Regions from separate parts of the Homo sapiens genome. Here region 1 is linked to region 2. Evidence: promoter capture Hi-C in 16 types of primary human blood cells and fetal thymus (Javierre and others, 2016). All regions are on one chromosome and are shown on one strand. Each heading gives the region's core, a stretch centred on a gene start or on the middle of the fragment in contact. The rest is flanking DNA. Distances are from core to core; before and after follow the strand shown. Region 1 overlaps CXorf38 (chromosome X open reading frame 38). Region 2 holds the start of SMC1A (structural maintenance of chromosomes 1A).

Region 1 (2,700 bases), core at 129-2,628, about 13 Mb after region 2:
GAGAGAGATTGATCAAGGGTCTAGGCGGTTCAGGGGTGGTATGCGGGACCCAACCCAGCTTAGTGAAGTAGAAGCTTTCTTCTACCCGTCTGCTTCCTGAGGGCATTTGAGTTTGTTACCCCTGCTTGGAAAGTTACAGGAAAGAGTTCTACAAGAGATACTGGGGCAAGATGCAGAGCGAGCATCATGAGCACAGGCAGGGAGGGAGGGAGACTCTTGTGTGGCCTGTTTGAGGGTAAGGCTCGCTGAACAGCTCATCAGCTCTTTTTTGGCTATAGGATGCCGTAAGGATGACAGAGTAAGCCAAGGGAAGTTAGGGCTAAAATAGCACCTTAAGTGCCCAGTTAAAGGCACTTTGGGTAGCTGGGAATGGGGTAGGCAGCCGGATCTGTCTTCAGATCTTGGCAATGTCACTTACTAAGTAGATCGAGTAGGAAATTTTTTTGCCCAGTAAGGGACGGAGAGGGACAGCCAGAAGTGGCTTCCTAACACAAATTGACTTTAGCAGTCAGTCTACATGCCAGTAGTTATCAGCAGGCACAGGGTGGGCACTGGAAAGGAGCAGTGCCTGGGAAGCAGATGATCTGAGTCCTGGATCAGCTGCCGTGGTGTGACACTGGGCCAGCTTGTGCTCCCCAATCTCAAAAATGAAAGGACGGCCGGGCGCAGTGGCTCACGCCTGTAATCCCAGCACTTTGGGAGGCCGAGGCGGGCGGATCATGAGGTCAGGAGATCGAGACCACGGTGAAACCCCGTCTCTACTAAAAATACAAAAAAATTAGCCGGGCGCAGTGGCGGGCGCCTGTAGTCCCAGCTACTCGGGAGGCTGAGGCAGGAGAATGGCGTGAACCCGGGAGGCGGAGCTTGCAGTGAGCGGAGATCGCGCCACTGCACTCCCGCCTGGGCGACAGAACGAGACTCCGTCTCAAAAAAAAAAAAAAAAAAAAAAAAAAAAAAAAAAAAAAAAAAAAATGAAAGGAATTGGGGCCGGGCGCGGTGGCTCATGCCTGTAATCCCAGCACTTTGGGAGGCCAAGGTGGGAGGATGGCTTGAGCTCAGGAGTTCAAGACCACCCTGGATAACATGGCAAAACCCCGTCTCTACAAAAAAATACAAAAATTAGCTGGGTGTGGTGGTGCATGCCTGTAGTCCCAGCTACTCAGGAGGCTGAGGTGAGAGGATCACTGGAGCCTGGGAAGTCGAGGCTGCAGTGAGCCGTGATCACACCACTGCATTCCAGCCTGGGTGACAGAGCAAGACCCTGTCTTAAAAAATTGAACTGTATCAGGGGTCCCCAGACTTTTGGGTATCACGAGCCGGTAAACCCACCACACCTACACCATCTTCCCCATTTTTTTCCACTGCAGCCATAGAGTTGCTGACTTCTACTTCTACCTAGAAAAGAGAAAAAAAACAGAAAGAAAGAAAACTCTGCCCTTTACAATGCCTGTCCCTCATCTGTTTGGTCTGCGTTGCTGCTTTCACACCATTGGAATCCTCTTGTAGCCTGTACTACCTCCTTATACCACTCTTTGCTCCTCTTGGTTGCTGTCACCTACAGACCTTCTAGTCCAACCCCATCCTCTCAGTTTCTGGGCTCCTGATTCCAGCATCCTCTGCTTCACTCCCCCTCAGCCTCCGGCTTGCATGCCCACACCCTGGACCTTGGCACAGAAAGTCTCAGTGTCTAACATCCTGCTGGCCTTTGGCACACTTATTCATGCACCCCTGCCCCCAACCCTGTGCCCCATACTACTTCCGCCTCTTTGAGGCTTCCACTGCTTCCTGAATACCCAGCACCCTCTGTCCTCCTGCCTGCCTTTGTCACCTCAGCTAGCCCAGATTCCATGGCCCATCATTATAATCCGTCCCTTGCTGTTATCTCAGCTTTTTTTTTCTCCTTTCTCTGAACTTGCCTGGCCCAACTCCAGTCCTGATGACATTTTCTGCTTCTGATTAGTGGGAAAGAATCTCACAAGGGAACTGACTGGTTTCACTTTCATTCTTGATCATGAGCCCCAGCGGTCTGGCCACATCTCTCTCTAGGCTTCAGTTTCTGGAGACTACTACTTTTCCCTGGCAAATCCCTGCTCCCGTTCCTCCGCCCTTGCTCATGCTTCACGGAATTGATGGAGGCCCTTGGACATACATAGTTGTCTCTCCTTATCCATGGGGTATTGCTTCCAAGACCCCCAAGGATACCAAAATCCACAGATGCTCAAGTCCCTGATATAAAATGATGTATGTGGTATTTGCATATTACTTACATACATTCTCCTATGTACTTTAAATCATCTCTAGATTACTTATAATACTTGATAGAATGTAAGTGCTATGTAAATAGTCGTTATGCTATATTTTTAAAAAATTTCGATTACTTTTTACTGTTGTATTATTTTTCTGAGAATTTTTCATCCACAGTTGGTTGATTCTATGAATGCGGAACTCGTGGATATGGAGGGCTGACTATACTTCCTCTTCTTTTTGCCAACACCAACTAATCTCCATGTGCACCATCTATTTCCTTCTGCTACAGAGGAGGAAGGGTGTCTCTCCTCTTATTGCCTCATACCTCCACTCGTGTGTTGGATCTTATCCCTTTTCTCTTGCTCAAGGCCTTTGAGGCTTCAGCTGTCCACTCTCTCTCTTGCAGCTCATTCCCATCTCCATAGAAAAAGCTTTAATATAGCCATGGTTTAT
Region 2 (2,700 bases), core at 81-2,580:
TCCTGCTTCGGCATCCTGGGTAGACCAGAGGTGAGAGCTGCCACACCCAGCTAATTTTTTAATTTTTAGTAGAGATAGGGTCTCACTATGTTGCCCAGGCTGGTCTTGAACTGCTGGTCTCAAGTGATCCTCCTGCCTTGGCCTGCCTCCCTCACGATGGGATTACAGTTGTCAGCCACCATGCCCAGCCACTTCCTCACTTTCCTGGACTTGTCCTAAGTCTTTAGGACTCTTTCTAGCCTTCGGACATAATTTAATAAATAGTTAAAGGAATAATTATGGCAACCACCAGATCCTTTCCATGTTTAAGTCTGAGAATGGCACCAACTTACCTACTGGTTTCACCTGCCATTACAGTATAAGGTCACTGAAGGGGAAGATTCAGCTGACATTTTAAGCTTCTTGGATTGCTAAGGCCCCTGCCTTATTAATGATAGAGAGCAGAGAGGGAAGAGAGGTAAGGTGGCATTGTGGTATAGAGCTGTGGGAATGGGATGGGGGAGAGGCATGGAGGCAGAGGTAGGTGGAGGTGGAGAGCGCTGGCTTAGGGACCCTGACTCCTGGGGGTTCACACAAAATACCTTTCTCAGTAAGGAATCCCGATTTTGAAGCTCTTAGGTTGGCTCTGCATGCAACTTTGTTCTTGGGTTACGGCGGCAGTTTCTGAACTCTGCTTGGTACAACAGGAGGGAGGCAGGGGATAGGGGTAGTATCTCAGGCCGTAGCCTTCCCCAGCCTGTATCCCTGTTGCCTGGGAGTAGCCCCAGTCCCATTCACAACCCGTCCGCCTTCGCAACCCGTCCCGCCACCAATCCCACCCCACCATTAGCAAAGTCTGAGCTCACCTAACACTGAATCCTCCCGTTGGCCCCTCCTTCCCGTCCAGCTCTCCGCTCCCCCCGGGTCCTTCCAATTCCCGACCCTGTCCTTGTCCTAGCCTTGAAAGCTGGCCAGGCTAAAGCCACAGCCGAGCTCCCACCTTCCTCTTGCCCTGAGGGGCATAATCCTGCTGTGACTTCTGTCTCAGCAAGCGTGAGCTCAGGTCTCCCCCGCCTCCTTGAACCTCAAGAACTGCTCTGACTCCGCCCAGCAACAACTCCTCCGGGGATCTGGTCCGCAGGAGCAAGTGTTTGTTGTTGCCATGCAACAAGAAAGGGGGGCGGAGGCACCACGCCAGTCGTCAGCTCGCTCCTCGTATACGCAACATCAGTCCCCGCCCCTGGTCCCACTCCTGCCGGAAGGCGAAAATCCCGTTAGGCCTGGACGTATTCTCGCGACATTTGCCGGTCGCCCGGCTTGCACTGCGGCGTTTCCCGCGCGGGCTACCTCAGTTCTCGGGCGTACGGCGCGGCCTGTCCTACTGCCGCCGGCGCCGCGGCCGTCATGGGGTTCCTGAAACTGATTGAGATTGAGAACTTTAAGTCGTACAAGGGTCGACAGATTATCGGACCATTTCAGAGGTTCACCGCCATCATTGGACCCAATGGCTCTGGTGAGATAAACCTGGCCGCGGCCCTGCGCACGTCCCGGCCTGGACCCCTTATCCGGTGCCGGAGTAGTACAACCCAGCCCATGTAACCTGAAACGTCGCGGACCCTTACGGGTTCCTTGCCCGTCCAGAGGGGGTTCTGCTCGAACCCACTCTCCCCGCGCGGGTGCTCTAACTCGAACCCCTTCCAGGTGTCACTTGCCGCTTCCTGCGCGGCCCCCGCCCCGGCCCAGTGGTACAGGCCGAGCTGCCAGTTACCCCGCCTACTTCCCCCTCCCGCCAAAGGAGTCGCGTCTGGAACCAGCTTCCCGCCAGCTCAGTCCTCCGCCGCGCGGCTCCCCGCCGGACCGGCCGGAGCCGGCTTCCCAGCCTTACTTGACCCCCTCCGGAGAATGTGGGGACGCTGGTAGCTCTCCCGTGGCCTTCGGTCCCAAACGGTGCACTTCTGTTTCAGCCCAGCGTCCTCTCTCGCCTCGCATTGGTACACTCCAACTCCTTTCTACTCTTCTCTGGAGGCGGCACTTTTGAATTTCAGACCCAGCGCTCCAGTCTTTAGAATGCTTGAGGTGTCGATCCCCACCCCCCACCGCTATGTCAGAGGTAGTTGCCTCGAACTCGCCCTTTTCCTACCACCGAAACCGTCAAAAGCCGAAATTAACTAATTTACCAAATTTGTTGAATGCTTATTGTTTATCAGGAGTTATTCAGTTGCAAGTTGTGGAAACAGCGGAGAATAGAATAAACCAACTCCATGCTCACAGGGAACTTATATTCCAGAGGGGAAAGAAGATAAGGAGAAAATAAGATGGTTTTAGGCTGTCATAAGTGCTATACAGGAAATGAGACAGGTGGATGTGATAAAGTGACTTAGGTGGTGTCTTTAGAAAGGGTGGTCAGGTAAAGCCTCTATTTTGTGTCTTCCCAACTCTAAACGATACACCGTGGATTCCTCTCACCTCAGATGTCCATTTGGAATCCTGCTGTATTCTTCCACCCCAGAGATGTTCTAGCTGAATGATATCCTAGCCTAAGAGGCTGCCCTTGCTGAAGTAGCACATACTGAGTACCTTTCCTGGAGACTGAGTGTCTCAACAGTGGCACTATTGACATTTCCAGCGAGATAATCCTTTGCTGTGGGATGTGCTCTGTGCATTGTAGGATGTTTAACAGCATCTCTGGCATCTACCTGCTAGATAACAGTAGCACCCCTG

The links. Contacts are between HindIII fragments. The CHiCAGO score rates a contact against its expected background, and 5 or more counts as called.
Region 1: a contact is called between a fragment that was not itself captured here and the fragment with the promoter of SMC1A in region 2, in 1 of 17 cell types (fetal thymus). The highest score is 11.3, in fetal thymus.

The regions. Positions count from the first base shown.
Region 1 is chrX:40,644,203-40,646,902 of GRCh38, reverse strand. All of the region lies in intron 2 of CXorf38 (chromosome X open reading frame 38), which reads left to right. Among named protein-coding and RNA genes, the nearest start is that of CXorf38, 2.0 kb to the left of the region's middle. RefSeq lists enhancers at 1-161, 1,849-2,078 and a silencer at 2,372-2,666. The HindIII fragment of the contact is 2,604 bases long and covers 77-2,680 here.
Region 2 is chrX:53,421,284-53,423,983 of GRCh38, reverse strand. SMC1A (structural maintenance of chromosomes 1A) reads left to right here and starts at 1,330. Exons shown (of 25, transcript NM_006306.4): 1 at 1,330-1,492. The coding sequence starts at 1,384. It overlaps RIBC1 (RIB43A domain with coiled-coils 1), which reads right to left and starts at 1,111. Exons shown (of 8, transcript NM_001031745.5): 1 at 980-1,111; 2 at 582-670. RefSeq lists enhancers at 1,023-1,072, 227-1,198, 1,363-1,542, 1,733-1,782, 1,903-2,082 and 1 more. The HindIII fragment of the contact is 3,638 bases long and covers 401-2,700 here.